Regions from separate parts of the Homo sapiens genome. Here all the other regions are linked to region 6. Evidence: promoter capture Hi-C in 16 types of primary human blood cells and fetal thymus (Javierre and others, 2016). All regions are on one chromosome and are shown on one strand. Each heading gives the region's core, a stretch centred on a gene start or on the middle of the fragment in contact. The rest is flanking DNA. Distances are from core to core; before and after follow the strand shown. Region 1 holds the start of APOC1 (apolipoprotein C1). Region 2 holds the start of DMPK (DM1 protein kinase). Region 3 has its middle 2.0 kb from the start of CLPTM1. Region 4 holds the start of RELB (RELB proto-oncogene, NF-kB subunit). Region 5 holds the start of CLASRP (CLK4 associating serine/arginine rich protein). Region 6 holds the start of PPP1R13L (protein phosphatase 1 regulatory subunit 13 like). Region 7 holds the start of PPP1R37 (protein phosphatase 1 regulatory subunit 37).

What was found. The method cuts DNA at HindIII sites, captures the fragments that hold promoters and counts their contacts. A CHiCAGO score of 5 or more calls a contact.
Region 1: the fragment with the promoter of APOC1 here is called in contact with the fragment with the promoter of PPP1R13L in region 6 in 3 of 17 cell types (total B cells, M2 macrophages and total CD8 T cells); the score reaches 5.4 in total B cells.
Region 2: a contact is called between the fragment with the promoter of DMPK here and the fragment with the promoter of PPP1R13L in region 6, in 2 of 17 cell types (total B cells and naive B cells). The highest score is 7.3, in total B cells.
Region 3: a contact is called between a fragment that was not itself captured here and the fragment with the promoter of PPP1R13L in region 6, in 1 of 17 cell types (activated CD4 T cells). The highest score is 5.4, in activated CD4 T cells.
Region 4: the fragment with the promoter of RELB here is called in contact with the fragment with the promoter of PPP1R13L in region 6 in 1 of 17 cell types (M2 macrophages); the score reaches 5.7 in M2 macrophages.
Region 5: a contact is called between a fragment that was not itself captured here and the fragment with the promoter of PPP1R13L in region 6, in 1 of 17 cell types (naive CD4 T cells). The highest score is 5.2, in naive CD4 T cells.
Region 7: the fragment with the promoter of PPP1R37 here is called in contact with the fragment with the promoter of PPP1R13L in region 6 in 4 of 17 cell types (erythroblasts, M1 macrophages, M2 macrophages and 1 more); the score reaches 6.6 in erythroblasts.

The regions. Positions count from the first base shown.
Region 1 is chr19:44,913,179-44,915,885 of GRCh38, reverse strand. APOC1 (apolipoprotein C1) reads right to left here and starts at 1,278. Exons shown (of 4, transcript NM_001645.5): 1 at 1,153-1,278; 2 at 937-1,014. The coding sequence starts at 994. RefSeq lists enhancers at 207-964, 965-1,724, 2,483-2,707 and a promoter at 1,139-2,265. The HindIII fragment of the contact is 4,871 bases long and covers 1-2,707 here.
Region 2 is chr19:45,781,148-45,783,847 of GRCh38, reverse strand. DMPK (DM1 protein kinase) reads left to right here and starts at 1,358. Exons shown (of 15, transcript NM_004409.5): 1 at 1,358-1,655. The coding sequence starts at 1,496. DMWD (DM1 locus, WD repeat containing) reads left to right here. Exons shown (of 5, transcript NM_004943.2): 5 at 1-901. The HindIII fragment of the contact is 10,590 bases long and covers 1-2,700 here.
Region 3 is chr19:44,952,025-44,954,724 of GRCh38, reverse strand. It overlaps a transcript of CLPTM1 not described here. Among named protein-coding and RNA genes, the nearest start is that of CLPTM1, 2.0 kb to the left of the region's middle. The HindIII fragment of the contact is 825 bases long and covers 838-1,662 here.
Region 4 is chr19:45,000,105-45,002,804 of GRCh38, reverse strand. RELB (RELB proto-oncogene, NF-kB subunit) reads right to left here and starts at 1,341. Exons shown (of 12, transcript NM_006509.4): 1 at 1,120-1,341. The coding sequence starts at 1,225. RefSeq lists silencers at 508-787, 1,108-1,517. The HindIII fragment of the contact is 31,053 bases long and covers 1-2,700 here.
Region 5 is chr19:45,038,868-45,041,567 of GRCh38, reverse strand. CLASRP (CLK4 associating serine/arginine rich protein) reads right to left here and starts at 2,523. Exons shown (of 21, transcript NM_007056.3): 1 at 2,460-2,523; 2 at 1,257-1,384. The coding sequence starts at 1,355. RefSeq lists an enhancer at 1,980-2,700. The HindIII fragment of the contact is 252 bases long and covers 1,325-1,576 here.
Region 6 is chr19:45,403,623-45,406,322 of GRCh38, reverse strand. PPP1R13L (protein phosphatase 1 regulatory subunit 13 like) reads left to right here and starts at 1,254. Exons shown (of 13, transcript NM_006663.4): 1 at 1,254-1,324. RefSeq lists enhancers at 403-602, 573-1,368. The HindIII fragment of the contact is 7,528 bases long and covers 1-2,700 here.
Region 7 is chr19:45,091,731-45,094,430 of GRCh38, reverse strand. PPP1R37 (protein phosphatase 1 regulatory subunit 37) reads right to left here and starts at 1,252. Exons shown (of 13, transcript NM_019121.2): 1 at 904-1,252. The coding sequence starts at 1,105. RefSeq lists silencers at 970-1,179, 2,697-2,700 and enhancers at 1,600-1,649, 2,650-2,700. The HindIII fragment of the contact is 14,988 bases long and covers 1-2,700 here.

The DNA of each region.
Region 1 (2,707 bases), core at 29-2,528, 490 kb after region 6:
GTGATTCTCCTGCCTCAGCCTCCCGAGTAGCTGGGCCTACAGGCGCGTGCCTCCACACCTGGCTAATTTTTTTGTATTTTTAGTAGAGACGAAGTTTCACCATGTTGGCCAGGCTGGTTTCGAACTCCTGACCTCAAGTGATCTGCCCGCCTCGGCCTCCCAAAGTGCTGGGATTACAGGCATGAGCCACCCTGCCCGGCCAAAAATTTGTTATTGGAACCCCCTTAGGTTGGGATACCGGGATGGATAGAGATCCTTGGGGATCATGTGGTTAGAATGGGGAGGAATGGCCGGACGCGGTGGCTCACGCCTGTAATCCCAGCACTTTGGGAGGTCGAGGCAGGCGGATCACAAAGTCAGGAGATCGAGACCACGGTGAAACCCTGTCTCTACTGAAAATACAAAAAATTAGCCGGGCGCGGTGGCGGGCGCCTGTAGTCCTGCTGAGGCAGGAGAATGGCGTGAACCAGGGAGGCGGAGCTTGCAGTGAGCCGAGATCGCGCCACTGCACTCCAGCCTCGGCGACAGAGCGAGACTCCGTCTCAAGAGAAAAAAAAAAAAAAAAAAAAAGAATGGGGAGGAATACTGGAGTGACCTGGTGGGGCTCAAGCTGCTGGGAATTGCCTTACTCAGCACTGACCTCTCCCAGAGCCCCCCACCCAGCTTACCCACTTTCAAGGCTGTCGAAGCAGGACAGCCAATCCCAGAGGTGTGGGCCTCAATACGTCATCGGTTGCTAGTGCTCTCCTGCGCAGATTTGGCGCCTGCGGGACTGAGCCTGGGAGAACCTGGAGACCCACCCGACCACGATGAGGCAACCACGACCCAGAAGGGGCCCCGGAGCTCTCAGAGGTCCTCTAAGCCGGGACCCCAGGCCTGTAGCCACCTTCACTCTTCCAAATCTCCAACTCCGCAATTCTCCCATCCCACTTTTACCTTCCAAGACGATCGACAGAACCACCACCAGGACCGGGAGCGACAGGAAGAGCCTCATGGCGAGGCCGGAGGGGCACTCTGGAGGCAGAGGCAGGGGTTCAGGGGATCAGTGGCACCCTCCTCCCTCCCTACCTCCCTCCCACGATCCCCTCATCTCCCTTTTTGAGTTTCTTGCAGAGTGTAGGCGGGTGTCCCTCCCAGGCACTCAGCACCAACCTGAATCCTTGCTGGAGGGCTTGGTTGGGAGGTCCTGTCCTGCCCGCAGGACCTTTATCAGGCTGGGGAGGGGGCGGGGCAGGTTGATGTTGATCTCCCTCCTCCTGAGCCTTCCCCTGACCGCCTGCCTCCCTCTGTCCACCCACGTTTTTCTCCTCTGCCCCTGTCCCGTGAGCGTTGGGGTCAGGTGGGGTCCCGGGCACTTCCCTTAGCCCCAAAGCCCCTCCCCGTTCAGCACTCTCACCTCTCAATCTTCCTGACTCTGTGGGGTCCTCAGACCACCTTAGTCCCTTTCCCCACTCAGAATGTAGCAGGAGGAGCCGCAGACAAAATTCCTCAGACGCTGAGTTAAGGAAGGGGTTTATTCGTTCGGGGAATGGGCAAGATTCCTGTCTCAAGAGCCGAGCTCCCCGAGTGAGCAATCCCTGTTCCTTTTAAGGGCTCACAACTCTAAGTGGGTGCACGTGAGAGGGTCGTGATCGATTGAACAAGCAGGGGATGCGTGACTGGGGGCTGCATGCACCGGTAATTAGATCGGAACAAAACAGAATAGGGATTTTCACAGTGCTTTTCTATACAATGTCTGTAATCTATAGATAACCTAACGGATTAGGTCAGGGGTCAATCTTTAACCACCAGGCCCAGGGTGTGGCGCGGGCTGTCTGCTTGTGGATTTCATTTCTGCCTTTTAGTTTTTACTTTTTCTTTCTTTGGAGGCAGAAATTGGGCATAAGACAATATGAGGGGTGGTCTCCTCCCTTAAGAAGACAGCCTTGTCCTGTCCCTGTGGCCATCTTCCCTCAGGGGTCTCCCAGTAATAACCCTGTGATCTCATCCCCCCCTCATTCACACCGTGTCCCTAGATCACCTCTTTCCCTCACTTCCCCTCTCTCAGCAAGCCTCCTCAGCCCCAACAACTTTTCCTTTATGTTGCTGGGTCTCCCAGTTGGCCCGGCGCTCCTACCCTGCGTGCCACCTCCAATTTATTCCAGACCAGCCCTTGAAGCACCCCAGACCACCGTGATATTCTCTGGGCTCTTAACTTCATGGTTCTCAGTCTCCCTTTTTTGGGAGGGGAACGGGTCGCCTTAGCTGGATGACACTGCAAAAACCTCACCTGCATTAGCCAGGCATGGTGGCTCATGCCTGTAATCCCAGCACTTTGGGAAGCTGAAGAGGGAGGATCACTTGAGCCTGGGAGTTCGAGACCAGCCTGGGCAATATAGGGAGACCTCATCTCTACAAAAAAGTTCAAAAATTAGCCGAGCGTGGTGGCGCATGCCTGTAGTCCCAGCTACTCAAGAGGCTGAGGTAGGAAGATTGCTTGAGCCCAGGAGTTCGAGGCTGCAGTGAGCTGTGATTGTGCCACTGCACTCCAGCCTGGTGGGACAGAGACCCCATCTCAAAAAATTAAAACCCTCAGCTGCAAAGCTCTGCGTGTATGTCCCTTCTTCCCTTCCACCGGGCCTCACCCCCTTTGGCTGGCTACCTCCCCCAAACACTCTATCTGCTTTTATTCACCCTCTGACGCCCCTCCTGGCACCAAGCCTGCTTC
Region 2 (2,700 bases), core at 109-2,608, 380 kb before region 6:
ACCCCAGCTGCCCTTGCTATTGTCTGTGCTTTTGAAGAGTGTTAAATTATGGAAGCCCCTCAGGTTCCTCCCTGTCCCGCAGGACCTCTTATTTATACTAAAGTTCCCTGTTTTCTCAGCGGGTCTGTCCCCTTCGGAGGAGATGATGTAGAGGACCTGTGTGTGTACTCTGTGGTTCTAGGCAGTCCGCTTTCCCCAGAGGAGGAGTGCAGGCCTGCTCCCAGCCCAGCGCCTCCCACCCCTTTTCATAGCAGGAAAAGCCGGAGCCCAGGGAGGGAACGGACCTGCGAGTCACACAACTGGTGACCCACACCAGCGGCTGGAGCAGGACCCTCTTGGGGAGAAGAGCATCCTGCCCGCAGCCAGGGCCCCTCATCAAAGTCCTCGGTGTTTTTTAAATTATCAGAACTGCCCAGGACCACGTTTCCCAGGCCCTGCCCAGCTGGGACTCCTCGGTCCTTGCCTCCTAGTTTCTCAGGCCTGGCCCTCTCAAGGCCCAGGCACCCCAGGCCGGTTGGAGGCCCCGACTTCCACTCTGGAGAACCGTCCACCCTGGAAAGAAGAGCTCAGATTCCTCTTGGCTCTCGGAGCCGCAGGGAGTGTGTCTTCCCGCGCCACCCTCCACCCCCCGAAATGTTTCTGTTTCTAATCCCAGCCTGGGCAGGAATGTGGCTCCCCGGCCAGGGGCCAAGGAGCTATTTTGGGGTCTCGTTTGCCCAGGGAGGGCTTGGCTCCACCACTTTCCTCCCCCAGCCTTTGGGCAGCAGGTCACCCCTGTTCAGGCTCTGAGGGTGCCCCCTCCTGGTCCTGTCCTCACCACCCCTTCCCCACCTCCTGGGAAAAAAAAAAAAAAAAAAAAAAAAAGCTGGTATAAAGCAGAGAGCCTGAGGGCTAAATTTAACTGTCCGAGTCGGAATCCATCTCTGAGTCACCCAAGAAGCTGCCCTGGCCTCCCGTCCCCTTCCCAGGCCTCAACCCCTTTCTCCCACCCAGCCCCAACCCCCAGCCCTCACCCCCTAGCCCCCAGTTCTGGAGCTTGTCGGGAGCAAGGGGGTGGTTGCTACTGGGTCACTCAGCCTCAATTGGCCCTGTTTCAGCAATGGGCAGGTTCTTCTTGAAATTCATCACACCTGTGGCTTCCTCTGTGCTCTACCTTTTTATTGGGGTGACAGTGTGACAGCTGAGATTCTCCATGCATTCCCCCTACTCTAGCACTGAAGGGTTCTGAAGGGCCCTGGAAGGAGGGAGCTTGGGGGGCTGGCTTGTGAGGGGTTAAGGCTGGGAGGCGGGAGGGGGGCTGGACCAAGGGGTGGGGAGAAGGGGAGGAGGCCTCGGCCGGCCGCAGAGAGAAGTGGCCAGAGAGGCCCAGGGGACAGCCAGGGACAGGCAGACATGCAGCCAGGGCTCCAGGGCCTGGACAGGGGCTGCCAGGCCCTGTGACAGGAGGACCCCGAGCCCCCGGCCCGGGGAGGGGCCATGGTGCTGCCTGTCCAACATGTCAGCCGAGGTGCGGCTGAGGCGGCTCCAGCAGCTGGTGTTGGACCCGGGCTTCCTGGGGCTGGAGCCCCTGCTCGACCTTCTCCTGGGCGTCCACCAGGAGCTGGGCGCCTCCGAACTGGCCCAGGACAAGTACGTGGCCGACTTCTTGCAGTGGGGTGAGTGCCTACCCTCGGGGCTCCTGCAGATGGGGTGGGGGTGGGGCAGGAGACAGGTCTGGGCACAGAGGCCTGGCTGTTGGGGGGGCAGGATGGCAGGATGGGCATGGGGAGATCCTCCCATCCTGGGGCTCAGAGTGTGGACCTGGGCCCTGGGGCAACATTTCTCTGTCCTATGCCACCACTCTGGAGGGGCAGAGTAAGGTCAGCAGAGGCTAGGGTGGCTGTGACTCAGAGCCATGGCTTAGGAGTCACAGCAGGCTAGGCTGCCAACAGCCTCCCATGGCCTCTCTGCACCCCGCCTCAGGGTCAGGGTCAGGGTCATGCTGGGAGCTCCCTCTCCTAGGACCCTCCCCCCAAAAGTGGGCTCTATGGCCCTCTCCCCTGGTTTCCTGTGGCCTGGGGCAAGCCAGGAGGGCCAGCATGGGGCAGCTGCCAGGGGCGCAGCCGACAGGCAGGTGTTCGGCGCCAGCCTCTCCAGCTGCCCCAACAGGTGCCCAGGCACTGGGAGGGCGGTGACTCACGCGGGCCCTGTGGGAGAACCAGCTTTGCAGACAGGCGCCACCAGTGCCCCCTCCTCTGCGATCCAGGAGGGACAACTTTGGGTTCTTCTGGGTGTGTCTCCTTCTTTTGTAGGTTCTGCACCCACCCCCACCCCCAGCCCCAAAGTCTCGGTTCCTATGAGCCGTGTGGGTCAGCCACCATTCCCGCCACCCCGGGTCCCTGCGTCCTTTAGTTCTCCTGGCCCAGGGCCTCCAACCTTCCAGCTGTCCCACAAAACCCCTTCTTGCAAGGGCTTTCCAGGGCCTGGGGCCAGGGCTGGAAGGAGGATGCTTCCGCTTCTGCCAGCTGCCTTGTCTGCCCACCTCCTCCCCAAGCCCAGGACTCGGGCTCACTGGTCACTGGTTTCTTTCATTCCCAGCACCCTGCCCCTCTGGCCCTCATATGTCTGGCCCTCAGTGACTGGTGTTTGGTTTTTGGCCTGTGTGTAACAAACTGTGTGTGACACTTGTTTCCTGTTTCTCCGCCTTCCCCTGCTTCCTCT
Region 3 (2,700 bases), core at 1-2,500, 450 kb after region 6:
CGCGTTCCCTCAGTGGTCCAAACCTCGCATCCGTGGGCTAGGCTTCACGGGCTCTGAGAATTCCACAATTTTTCATTAGCTGTGTGTCTTCGTACAGCTCTAAACCCGGCCATCTGCTGAGAGACCCTTAGTTTGGAGAGGGTGTTACGGAGGCCCAGAGAGGACAAGACTCTCAGAGGCTGTTAACTGTTCACCCGTGAAATTGGGTGGATGTCTGGCCAGGGTTCTAACCCTTGTGGTGCTACTGACTGGATAAGATATCCTGGACAAGTGACGTCTCTCTCTCTCTTTTTTTTTCTTTTTTAGACGGAGCCTCACTCTCCCCCAGGCTGGAGTGCAATGGCGCGATCTCGGCTCACTGCAACCTCGGCTCACTGCATCCTCGGCCTCCCGAGTAGCTGGGATTACAGGAGCACGCCACCACTCCTGGCTAATTTTTTTTTTTTTTTTGAGACGGAGTCTCGCTCTGTCACCCAGGCTGGAGTGCAGTGGCGCGATCTCGGCTCACTGCAACCTCTGCCTCCCGGATTCAAGCAATTCTCCTGCGTCAGCCTCCCATTTTTTTTTTTTTTTTGTAAGTAGAGACGGAGTTTCACCGTGTTGGCCAGGCTGGTGACAAGTGACATCTATGTTTGAGCCTCAGTTTCTCCCCTTTTATAAACCAGGGATATAATCGTACTCGTTCTTCGTCTTCCCGTTTTGCCCCGCTGTGTTATTGGGAAGACGTAGTTAGATGGCGAATGGAAAACATCAGGCCCTGGGCCTCATGCTTAAGTGGTCAATATTTGGAGCGCTGTGATTATGAACCTTATATATTACCTGGAAAAAGAGTAAGCTTTGCATTGGGATATTCTGAATATATAATTATCATTTTATTATCGGTTTCCTCCACTTTCCTCTAGGTCTCAGCCCTGTAACAGTAGCTCTCGCTCTAGGAAACTCTCTCTGAGCCCTTTTCCTATCCTCCCTTGCCCCCTCAGCTCCTCCACCCCATCCCTGCTCACTTTGTGTCATCACTGTCAGGGATGGGTGTGTCTCCCCAACTGGGCAGGCTGACCTGGGACTGTTGTGGTCACTGCTGTATCTCCAGCACTGCCCTGGGGATGATTGCCCTGGGGATGAGGCTCTCTAGGTGCAGAAGGTGAGTGACTTACCTCTCTGAGGGCTAACACAGGACAAGAAGGAACCTTAGAAAACTTCGCTCCTCAGCCAGGCGCGGTGGCTCACGCCTGTAATCCCAGCACTTTGGGAGGCCGAGGCAGGCGGATCACCTGAGGTCGGGAGTTCAAGACCAGCCTGGCCAACATTGTGAAACCCCGTCTCTACTAAAAATACAAAAATTAGCCGGGCATGGTGGCGGACGTCTGTAACTCCAGCTACTCGGGAGGCTGAGGCAGGAGAATTGCTTGAACCCGGGAGGCAGAGGTTGCAGTGAGCCAAGATCATGCCACTGAATTCCGGCCTGGGCAACAGAGCAAGACTCCACCTCCAAAAAAGAAGAAAGAAAAGAAAAAGAAAACTCAGTGCCTCATCCTCACTGTTACAGACAATAATGGTGTTAATAACGATTCTTTGAATGTGTAGGCCCAGTCTTTTAAGTCCAGGGATGAAGTGAATAGACTAAGACAGGGATTGAGGAGAGACTTTGTGGGGTCTGAAGCTTATGTGTTTTGTGGGCCTCTTTTTTTTTTTTTTTTTGAGATGGAGTCTTGCTCTGTCACCCAGGCTGGAGTGCAGTGGCATGATCTCAGCTCAATGCAAGCTCCGCCTCCTGGGTTCACACCATTCTCCTGTCTCAGCCTCCGGAGTAGCTGGGACTACAGGCGCCCACCACCACGCCCAGCTAATTTTTTGTATTTTTAGTAGAGACGGGGTTTCACCGTGTTAGCCAGGATGGTCTTGATCTCCTGACCTCGTGATCCGCCTGCCTCTGTCTCCCAAAGTGCTGGGAGTACAGGCATGAGCCACCGCGCCTGGCCTGGCCTCTTTTAAAAAGTACAAAATTGGCTGGGTGTGGTGGCTCACACTGTAATCCCAGCACTTTGGGAGGCAGAGGCTGGTGGATCACCTGAGGTCGGGAGTTCGAGACCAGCCTGACCAAAATGGAGAAACCCCATCTCTACTAAAAGTACAAAATTAGCTGGGCATGGTGGTACATGCCTGTAATCCCAGCTACTTGGGAGGCCAAGGCAGGAGAATCGCTTGAACCTGGGAAGCGGAGGTTGTGGTGAGCCGAGATCATGCCATCGCACTCCAGCCTGGGCAAGAAAAGGGAGACTCTGTCTTGAAAAAAAAAAAGTACAAAATGACTTGTACAAATTTAGGTAGAGGACCATGGAAAGCCCAGGCAAGTGAGGGGCTTTGAAACTTTCTCCAGCCTCACTGCAACCCCAACTGCGCTCTCAGCTATAAATACAAACTGCTGCAATCTGCTCTCCAAGTCTCATACACTGCAAGGGCCAATGTGTTGGAGCATGATGAGGTCTAAGCTTCTCATGAGAAGTGTGACCTTGGACAGGGCTCCTGTGGAGGCAGGTTCCCTGCAGAGCCTTCCTATGCTCTGTGGAGTGACCAAATAAATTCTGCCATTCCGTCCAGGCTTCGTGGCTCATGCCTGTAATCCTAGCACTCTGGGAGGCTGAGGCAGAAGGATCGCTTGAGCCTAGGAGTTTAAGACCAGCCTTGGTGACATAGCGAGAT
Region 4 (2,700 bases), core at 92-2,591, 400 kb after region 6:
CAGGCTTACCAGCTAAATCATGGACAGGTCCTGGCCTTTAGTTTCTGTGGTTCGCCCCACCCTTCATCACACTCAGGGCCCGCTCCTTTTCTCCCTTAAAGTTGGGCCTGGAGGGGACCCCATCTCAATCTCAGTTTAAAAAGTCCCCATCCCGCTGGGCACAAGGGCTCACACCTGTAATCCCAGCACTTTGAGAGGCCGAGGCGTGCGGATCACCTGAGGTCAGAAGTTCGAGGCCAGTCTGACCAGCATGGTGAAACCCCGTCTCTAGTAAAACTACAAAAATTAGCCGGGTGTGGTGGCGGGCACCTGTAATTCCAGCTACTCGGGGGGCTGAGGCAGGAGAACTGCTTGAGCCCGGGAGGCAGAGGTTGCAGTGAGCCTAGATCGTGCCACTGCACTCCAGCCTGGGCGACAGAGCGAGACTCCATCTCAAAAGAAAAAAACAAAAAACAAACAAAAAAAAACATCCTCCTGTCAGGGTCAGACCACTTTTAATTTTTTCAATGTCAAGGCTCCGCTTCTCCGTCTGGAGGCAAGCCCCACCCCCTCCTCATTCTCTGTGTCGGGCCCCGCCCTGCTTTTTTGGGTAACAGGCCCTTCCCCTCCACTCGGCCAGAGTCAGGCCCCGCCCCTTCCCCTTCTTTCGGCCAACTCAGGCCCCGCCCCCTTCCTGCCCTCACGGCCAGGCCCCGCCCCCTCACCCCTCAGCGTAGGGCCCTGCTTCCTTTTTTGAGTCAGGCCCGGCCCTCTTCTCATAGTCCGGGTCGGATCCCGCCCCTCTTCTCCCTCTCTGGGCCCGGCCCCGCCCCGATACCGCCCAAGAGCAGCTTTCGCTCCGCCTTCTCTGAGTCAGGCCACGCCCCCTTCTTTGCCTCAGGGTCAGGCCCCGCCCCCTCTCACTCTACAGCGGGACGCCTCGCTCGAACCTCGGGCCGTACCCCCTCATCACCCTCTGCCTTCTTCCTACGCCCTAATACAGTGTCTCAGGAACCCTCACTCTGCCCCCGCGAAACCCTTAGACTCCCATAGGAACCCCCAGACTACTCCGGGACCGCCAGAATCCCCGCATCTCCAGCCCCGCCCCAGACCCCTCTCCTGAACCCCAGCCCCGCTTACCTAAGGCCCCCAGCTCCGGCGCAGCCGGCGGTCTGGCGACGCGGCGACTCGGCATGGCCCGGCCAGTGGGGACGGACGGCCCAGAGGCTGGCCCAGACCGAAGCATGCACGCGGGCCGGCCGGGCGGCCGGGAGGCACGGTCTGGTGGACGATCGCGGGTCGGACGAGCGGCGCAAGGGCTGGGGCCGCAGGCCGGGCAGGACGCGCGGCGCCCGGGGCTGCGCGGGGCGCGGGGCCGGGCCGGGCGGGCGGCGGGCGGGGGCGGGGCGGCGGAATTCCCCGGCGCCGCCGGCCTGCGCGCCCATTGGTCTGCACCCCGCCGTGACGTCACGCCTGGGGAACGGGAAAACCCCCACGCGTCACGTGATCGCGGGGGCGGGGCCGGCCGGGAAAGGGAGGCTGGGCGCTCAGGAGGGGTTGGGCAGGCGTCGCTGCCCATTGCTCTGGACGAGACAACTGAGGCCTGCTTAGAGCCATCACGCCTTACCCATTGAGCAAGCCGGCAAACTGAGCCGCTCCCCGCTTTGGTCTCCCAGTGGGACTTGAACCTGCCGTTTCTCAGGCTGGAAGGGGAGCTTCAGGATCGAGAGGTTGGCAGGGCTCTACACCTGCCATCCATAATAATATTTCGGAAACCTCCAAGGTCTCGCTACACCTCAGTTTCCTCAACCGTAAATTGAGGATGAAGATATTTAAGGAACGTTTAAAGCTAGCGTGTCAGCTTCAGAATTTATGTTTTGTGCGTTGTTGTAACCCCAACGCCTAGACCAGCGCCTGGAACACCGTAGGTGCCCAATAAATGTTTATTGGAGGCCGGGCGCGGTGGTTCATGCCTGTAATCTCAGCACTTTGGGAGGCCGAGGCAGGCACATCACGAGGTCAGGATTTCGAGACCAGCCTGACCGACATGGTGAAATCCCATCTCTACTAAAAATACAAAAATTAGCTGGGCGTGTTGGTGTGCGCCTGTAATGCCAGCTACTCCGGAGGCTGAGGCAGGAGAATAGCTTGAACCTGGGAGGCGGAGGTTGCAGTGAGCTGAGATCGTGCCACTGCACTCCAGCCTGGGCAACAGAGCGAGACTCCCATCTCAAAAAAAAAAAAGTTTATTGGATGAATGCATGGATGTTTTATTTATTGGTTTGTTCCTCCCTGCAGCCCCTGAAAGTTACCCATAAATAGCCCAGACCACTTTGAGCTCAAAAGCTCAGTTATTCAGTCTGCGAATGGCAGCAGTGTAGCCTCCGTATACATCCTGAGCTGTGTGCCTAAACCCTGAGCTCATCCCTATCACCAGCGCCAGAAGCATATGATAGGATTATTGCAGAAGGGACTCAGGCTGAAAGAGGGGCAGCCATTTGGCTAGATCACATTCCTAAGCCTCTCATATTCCTGAGAACGACTAGGTGATCTATTAGGTTCTAAGTTGGATGCCAGGCGCTCTCAGACCACAGATGCAGGGTTTGTTGTCTTTCCTTTGCTTGTATAAAATTTGGGTGTTCTGGCTAGGCACGGTGGCTCACACCTGTAACCCCAATACTTTGGGAGGCCGAGGCAGGAGGATTGCTTGAGCCTGGGAGG
Region 5 (2,700 bases), core at 201-2,700, 360 kb after region 6:
TACAGGAATAACTGGGAAAGGTCTATATAAATGTCATCTGACAGGAACACTGAACCTAGAAAACAGGTGCCATTTCAAGCTGGGATCCCAAGGATACACAGGAGTTAAATAGGTGAGGGGGGGTAATATAGGCCAAAGCCCTGTGGTGGCAGAAATAGAAGGCCAGTGGAGCTGTCCGAGTATGAAGCTGAGTGGTCAGACCACAAGGGTCTTTTAGGCCAGGGATAGTTTGGTCTTCCCCGCAAAAACAACTGAAGCATCAGACAGGAGAGGGAAGTGGTCAGGTTTCACTTAATATTCACTCCTTTTTTTTTGAGACAGTCTTTTTTTTTTTTTTTTTGAGACAGAGTCTCGCTGTCGCCCAGGCTGGAGTGCAATGGTGCTATCTCAGCTCACTGCAGGCTCCGCTCTGCCCCCCTCCCCGGTTCACACCATTCTCCTGCCTCAGCCTCCCGAGTAGCTGGGACTACAGGCACCCGCCACCTCACCTGGCTAATTTTTTGTATTTTAATAGAGATGGGGTTTCACCGTGTTAGCCAGGACGGTCTCGATCTCTTGACCTTGTGATCTGTCCACCTCGGCCTCCCAAAGTGCTGGGATTACAGGCGTTGAGTCTTGCTCTGTCACCCAGGCTGGAGTTCAGTGGCACAATCTCCATGCACTACAGCCTCCTCCTCCCGGGCTCAAGCAATTCTCGTGCGTCAGCCTCCCAAGTAGCTGGGACTACATGCACACACCACTAAGCCTGGCTAATTTTTGTATCTTTAGTAGAGATGGGGTTTCACCCTTTTGGCCAGGCTGGTCTCGAACTCGTGACCTCAGGTGATCCACTTGGGATTACAGGCGTGAGCCACTGTGCCAGGCCAACTTAATACTCACTCCTATTGTGTGCCAAGCCAAATCTCAAGAGTGGCTGAGCTCTTCTGGGAATGGGGAACACAGCAATAAGCGAAACAGACATTCTGGAGGTGGCCAGTCTAACGTCAGGACTGCTCTGAGGGTTACAGAGACTTCCCTTTTTCTTGCTAACACCGGATCGGCACTGGGAGGCCACACCAAACGACACAGTATGCTACAACAAACAGAAGCCCTTGGGATCCCACCAATGATTATCCTCAAGAAAAGATTAATGAATATACTCCTGAGGAAATGAGCCTCTTGTCTTGACATACTTCCAAGCCCAGATTTTACCAGGATGACCAGCTGTGCCCCCCAACCCAGGGTCCCTCACCCCAGACAAAAGGCCAGTTACTCACGATCTTTTCATAATACTCCCGTCTCCGCTCCGCCCTCTTCTTGTAGTCGACCATCATGCCTCGAAGCTTCCGCTCATGCTTCCGAGCCTCGTGCCACATTGTGGTGAGGCCAAGCCTGGGGCCTCAACCTGAGGGATGAAGGGACCAGGAAAGTCAGATGGTCTGTGAAACCCGTATGGGCAGAATCAAAGTCATCTAACAAGTTGGTGGCAGAGTCGATCCCAAACAACACATCTCTTAGCTTCAGGGAGCAGAAGTGAAGCTGCAGAACAGTATGCCAGATGTTCAAGTCCATCCCTAACAACTTCGATCTAGAAGCTTGGGCATTCTGAAAAACCCTCAGGTGATTCTGAGGTGAGCATCACTGGGAAAGGGGTGTCCTAGATTCCACGCGCTGGAGTCGGGAATGAAAGGTTTTGAAACATCAGCAGTGTTTGAAGTAGGGTCAGAAGGCAAACCCTGAGCACTTAAGGCTGGAGCTCAAGAGAAAGAGAAGAACTGAAAAGGCTCCCACTAGGGGCCATGCGTGGGGTTGGGTATGAGTCTGGGTGGTAGAGGGATAAGGAGAATAAGGATGAAGGCAGGTGGAGGAAATCGGAGAAAGCTTTTAAGGGAACAGTGCAGTTGTATGAAGGTGGAGGTCGAGGACAGGTGAAGGGCGTGGCGGAAGATGAAGATGCTAGAGGGAGTGGGAACACGGGGAGGGAGTGTTGCAAGGAGACCAGAGTGAAGCTGAGGTCTAAAGATGGGATCTAGATGGCGGGGTGGGGAGAGCATCCAAAGAAAAAGAGCGTAGAGCCTGAGAGAGGCGGAGCTGGCTGACAGGAGGGCGTGGGCTGAGCTTGGGGGCAGGGCTTGCGGGAAAGGGCGGAGACCGAAGGTTTGGACGGGGCTTGTGGATCGCGTCGCGGCCTGAGGATTTGGGCTGGGTTTTTTTTTTGTTGTTTTTTTTTTTGACAAGGGGGCGGGGCCTGTGATAAGCTGCTGGGCCGAAGGCCGAGTTCGACGCGGCAACTTCTGGCCCACAGCCGGGGCACGGGCTCGGCCTGAGGCCCGTCAGGCCTAATGGGGTGAGGGACGAGCGATCCTCGGGGCCGGGACGCAGCAGAAGCCCACAGCAGCATGGGGAGAGCCTGAGGAAAGGGAGAAGCTGGGCTGAGGCCTGCCCGAAAACCGGGAGGTCGAGCCGCAGCCTGCACTCACCGGCTGGTCGCCGCCTCCCACCGCTGCGCTCGCGCGCGGCCCGCACCGGAAGCGGAAATGAAAGGCCGCGCTAGGGGGAGGGGGCGGAGCATGGTGGAGGGCCGCGCAGCGCACTTCCGCCGACGAGAGAGGCGGGTCCTAGAGTCGAGAGGGGCGGGATCCCGAGGAAGAAGTGGGAGAGCGGAGAAGGGAAGAGCTTGGATGCTTTATCTTTTTATCTTTTTTATTTTATTTATTTATT
Region 6 (2,700 bases), core at 5-2,504:
GTCGATTGGTCTGAAATTCTTGAAGAGACAGGTAAGAATACTAGTTAGTAGGGCTGTGCTTTCTGTGTTAAATGTCTTCTGGGGAGGCCCAGATGCCTCACAAGTTCAGAACTTGACTGGGAGAAGCGGGAAAATGGAGAAATAGGGGCAATCCGTCCGGAGGGCGTGAAGTTCCAGCCAGGGGCGGGGCTTCTGGACTCCGGGGGAGCGGGAAACATAGGGGGAGGAGCTTGTGGTTCTCGAGGGCGGAGCCTCGGACCCAGGAGCCCCACACGCGTGGAGTGGTGCTGGGCACGGTGTAGCGTTTGTGGATCAAATGGGACTTGTAGATGCCCTCGGGGGTTTAGTCTCATGCGTGGGAAACCTCGATGACTTTCAGGAAGGGACCTGATCGGCGACTCCTCCCTGCCCCAGGGAGCGTGTAAACAGCGGCACGTGGACACAGATTTGGGGGACGCACCCACTTCCCTTCCCACTGGGGCCGCCCCGCGTTGGGCGGCGGTTGGAGCCGCGAGACGGTGGCTAGACAGGGTGACCCGACTGCATTCCTGGCCAGTGTGTCAGCGCCACTTCCCGCCCCCTCTGCCAAGATTTAGGATCCTACTCCAGAATTGGGGCACCCCTTCTCCCCAGGTGGGAGAGGCTTTCCAGAGCGGAGGGAGGGTCAAGGGGAAGGGGAAATGTTTCCCCTATCCAGGATCTCCAGACGGTTTCCTTCGCGTGGGCGAGAGAGACACCGGGGTGCAGCCCCTGCGGGCTCCAGGACTACAATTCCCACAGGACCCGAGGCAAAGAGTCGCCCGAGGGCGGTCGCGGAGGCTGCTGGGGGTTGTAGTCCAAACTAAGATTTTGAACTCTTGCTGGGACATCCTTTGAAGATCCAACCCGCGCTTTTTATCGACGGGGAGATTCGGGCTCAGAGACCCTGGGGGATACTGATCAGGAAAGGGGATAGTGCGCCTGAAGGGGTGGGGCAAGGGCTCAGGAGTCAGTCTCCAGCCACAGCGAGGCAGGCGTCTCGGCTCTTCTGTATCTCCCTGGCCTGGTCGCTCTCGGCTTCTGGGCCTCGCCCTTCCTGTCTGTGAAATGGACTCTGGGTGAATCCAAATGGGATCGTCTTGGGCTACGTCCTGTCCCTCCGGGACTACAAGTCCCAAGGTGCTCGAGGCGACCTTGGCTCCCCCTCCCCACCGGGACCCGCCTCCCTCCAGCCCAAGTCACGTCGTCTAACCTGTTCCCAGCTCCTGCCCCGCCCCGTTCTCCGCTCCCCAAGCCGGAGCCCGAGCTGGAGGAAGCCCCCAGGTGCCAGGATCTGCCCGGATCCGTGAGTTTCACCCTCCTGGGGACCAGAGGCCCTGAAAAAGCCCAACACCCGCGTCCCTGGGAGGATTGGGAGGGGACTCGGACGCCAGGTCCCAGGGCGGAATTTGGGGCGCGCCGACACCTGGATCCTTAGAAGGAAACTCCGTTGCCTGTTTTACTGGAGGGAAGGAAAGCGGGTTCGGATGCCTGAATTCTTGGAATGGAGGGATTCTACCCCTTCATCCCGGGGAGACGTTGGAGCTGGAATTCCTGAGTCCCTCGAACTGGGGGGCTCTAGGAAGCCGAGTCTTTGGGTAGTATAGGGGTTCGAATCCCCGAGTCTTGGTCAGAAATGAGAGGCTCAGACTGGTGGGGCTCAAGGTGGAATGGGTGACCACCCTGCCAGCCTCAAGCTGCTGTCTCGACCGATCTTCTAGGTCTCTGAGCAGAATTAAGGGTGGGGCAGGGATAGTGGAGCCTGGGTTCCTGAAGTGGAGCAGGACAGGTACCCGGGGTCCCTCCGGAGGCTGTGTCCCGGCTCTCCCCCGACTTTTCGGCTCGGGGATGGGGGCGGGGTAGGAGAGAAAACACCGAGGCAGATCTCCAACCTCCTCTGTGCCGCTGAGCGAACCCAACATGTCATTAACCTGGGCGTCAGACCTGCCTAACCAGAGAAGGGACATCCGCCCTAGGGCACCCCCTGGCGGAGGTGGGCTCCCCTATTGCCTTATGGGGTGGGAAACAGCTGGGTTTGCAGAGGTAGTTCTAGAACCCAGGGCAGAATTCCGGAAAGCGGCTATTGGATTCTGGGAGGTTTGCATAGCCGGGCATTTAACCATTACACGGAGAGGAAGGGGTAAACTGAGGCTTGGAGCTCACACAGGCAGTAGAGTTTGTAGGGTCAGGATTCTGCCTCCTCCTTCTTCTGCAGCTCTCTGGGGGACGGGATTCCATCCGCCCCCGCCAGATTTTCTGACTAACCTTCTGCCTCAGGGCTCCTTGCCCTGACCCTGAGGTGAGAAATGTCACCTCCACGCCCATCTGTCTGACCTGGGGTATTGTGGGAGATAAGGGAGGGACAGAGGCTAATTCTGGAGGTGTCTGTCTGTCCTTGAGGCGGGGGGAGGGCAGGACCAGGCACCTCCCTCTGTCTATCTCCCCGTTCTCTCCACCCCCATGCGTCCTAAGAAGGGGGATTAAAAACAGAATGGGGGAGGCGAGCATCTGATGAGAGAGGAGTGTTTCCCAATGTCTGGGCTTGAAGGGCATTTGATGATAACCTGAAATGAAATTAAAAATAATAACCGTGGTTGCCAAAACAGGGCTCTGGGTGTACCAAGCTCAGAGCTGGTAGGTAGGTAGGTAGGAAAGCTCGCATTGTCTAGAGGAATCTTGGGT
Region 7 (2,700 bases), core at 3-2,502, 310 kb after region 6:
TCTCAGGAAGGAACAAGAGGACCCTTCCGTAGCCATGTCCCAAACATCCTCTGCTCCTGAATGACTGACAGCCTTCCTTCTGCTTCTCTTTTTTTTGGAGGAGGAGGCGGCGGTAGGCGTTGGCTTTTCTTCTTAATACCACATTGCAGCAGGCGGCGGTGGCTCACACCTGTAATCCCAACACTCTGGGAGGCCAAGGAGGGAGGACAGCTTGAACCCAGAAGTCCGAGACCAGCCTGGGCAATGTAGTGAGACCTTGTCTCAATAAAAAAGAAAACATAAAAACCACACTGCCTCTTTCTCCCTCACCCAACCACAAATTGACCACCACCTCTGCTCCTCTTCTGGGACCTTATCTTGACTCCTTTTTACCAAGTCCTCTATAGCCACAGTCCAAGTTTATAGTCTCCCTCTTTCCAGCCAAGAAAGTGGCCAACACGACCACTCCTTGCCCCAAGGCTTGCAGACCAGCAACTTAACCTCTTTTTACCCCCATAGACCCATCAAACTCTTTCAACTGCCCTTTCAGGCCCAGTGTTGACCCGCTCCTCCTCTCAACTGCTCCTTCTCTCCTTCTCTGGTGGAACTACGAACGCAAAGGCTGCCACACTCTACATCTGACAAAACACCAAACTTTCTTTAATTGCTCATCGTTTTAAACCCTAAAACGATCACCATCTTTGTCTCGGGTGGGTGGGGTGCGGCAGAAACCAGATACTTTTCACCTTCCCAACTCCATAGCCACCCCCTTTCTAACAGACTACGGTTCTAAACTGACGACTGTCCCCTTATTCACCATTAGGTGCAATCTATTGAACGCCACCTCGAGCCGGGCCCTGCACCGATCCCTCCCGACTCCCGGGTCCCTCTCGAGCCCGCCCCCGCTTCACCCGCGGTAGCTACCATGTCTCCAGGGGTCTTTGGGCTCCACTGCTCCAGACACGATATCCTCGTCGGACGGGAATGTGACGCGCTTGGCTGCAGCCTTGAGGCGCCCATCGGCGGGGGGCGACGCGGGGCTGGGAGACCCGGCCTCAGCTGGGGCCTCTTCAATGTCGCCGTCCGCGCCCGGCACGGGCGGCGCCTCCTGCGGCGCGATCTCCATAGCCGCCGCCGCCTCCTCACGGGGGCCCCGGGGACATGCCCCGGGCCCCGGATTTGTCTCTCCGGGTCCGCCCGCCGTCCCGGGGCATGGGCTCCGCCGCCGCTTCAGGCGCCGCCTCCGTCCGCTCTCCTAGTGGTCGTAGTCGTCGCCGCCGGGAGCCCAAGCGCGCCTCCGCCGAGCCCCGCGCGCGCCTGCCCGTTCGCAGTCACACTTTCGCTCGAGGCTGGCGAGCCCGCCGCTTACTATAAGAAGCAGAAAATCGATTTCAGCGACTTGCACGTAGAGTTGTCCCGCGGGTGACATGAAGAGAGAAACAAAGGGCAGGAAGGGCCACGGAAAAAAGAAACGTGAGCAGCGAATCTGCAGAGCCGGAACTGCAGACTATGAGGGGCGGGGCGAAGTAGACGCCGTCTCCAAGAGCAGCGCGCAAGCGCGAAGCTGAGCCCACGCCTTCCTGCCGGAGTCCAAATAACGAATATTCAGCTCCCGCACATTCGTCAAGAGCCCAGGGAATGGAGTGCATAGAACTGAAAACACCTGGCGGGGCGCGGCGGCACACGCCTATAATCCCAGCACTTTGGAAGGCTGAGGCGGGAAGATCGCTTGAGTCCAGGAGTTCGAGACCAGCCTGGGCAACATAGCAAGGCCCCGTCTTTACAAAAAATTTAAAAATTAGCAGGGTCTGGTTACAGGAGCCTGTAGTTCCAGCTACTTGGGAGGTGGGAAGATCGCTTGAGCCCGGTAGGTTGAGGCTGCACTGAGCTATGATCGCGCCCCTGCACTCCGACCTGGTAGACAGAGCCAGACCCTGTCTCAACGAAAGGAAAGAAATGGGCCGGGCGCGGTGGCTCACGCCTGTAATCCCAGCACTTTGGAAGGCCGACACGGGCGGATCACGAGGTTAGGAGATCGAGACCATCCTGGCTAACACGGTGAAACCCCGTCTCTACTAAAAATACAAAAAATTAGCCGGGCGTGGTGGCGGGCGCCTGTAGTCCCAGCTACTCGGGAGCCTGAGGCACGAGAATGGTGTGAACCCGGGAGGCGGAGCTTTTAGTGAGCCGAGATCGTGCCACTGCACTCCAGCCTGGGCGACAGAGCAAGACTCCGTTCCCCCCCCCCCAAAAAAAACAAAGGAAATAAATGAAAACATTGAGGCTAGACTAACTGATGAAGAGTGGTAACGGCATGAAGAAGTCGAAAAGAAAGGCGGATAGGAGCTGCATTCAATATATGAGTGCAGTTGATGGATGCTGACAGGGATACTCTGGAGACGAAGTCTCGGCCCCTTCGCTAGTCTCTAGTCCTCCATTTGCTCGCTGCAGTTACATCAACAGCTCTCTGTATCGGGGTAGAGTTGCATAAAATACAACTTAAATTACAATGCTAAAATAAATATGAGCCCATGAGCGGTATCATAGGCCTGATTTTAAAAAACAAAACCTAGGAGAAGGTAGAAATTCCAAAGGCGAGAGACGAATCTGCCAACCTAAATCCTGGGTGACAAGGCTGGTGGATCACCGAGGCAAGAAAGAACCAGCGTGAGCTCAAGCCACACCCCTAGGCTCAGACCCAACGCTTGACATTCGCCGCCG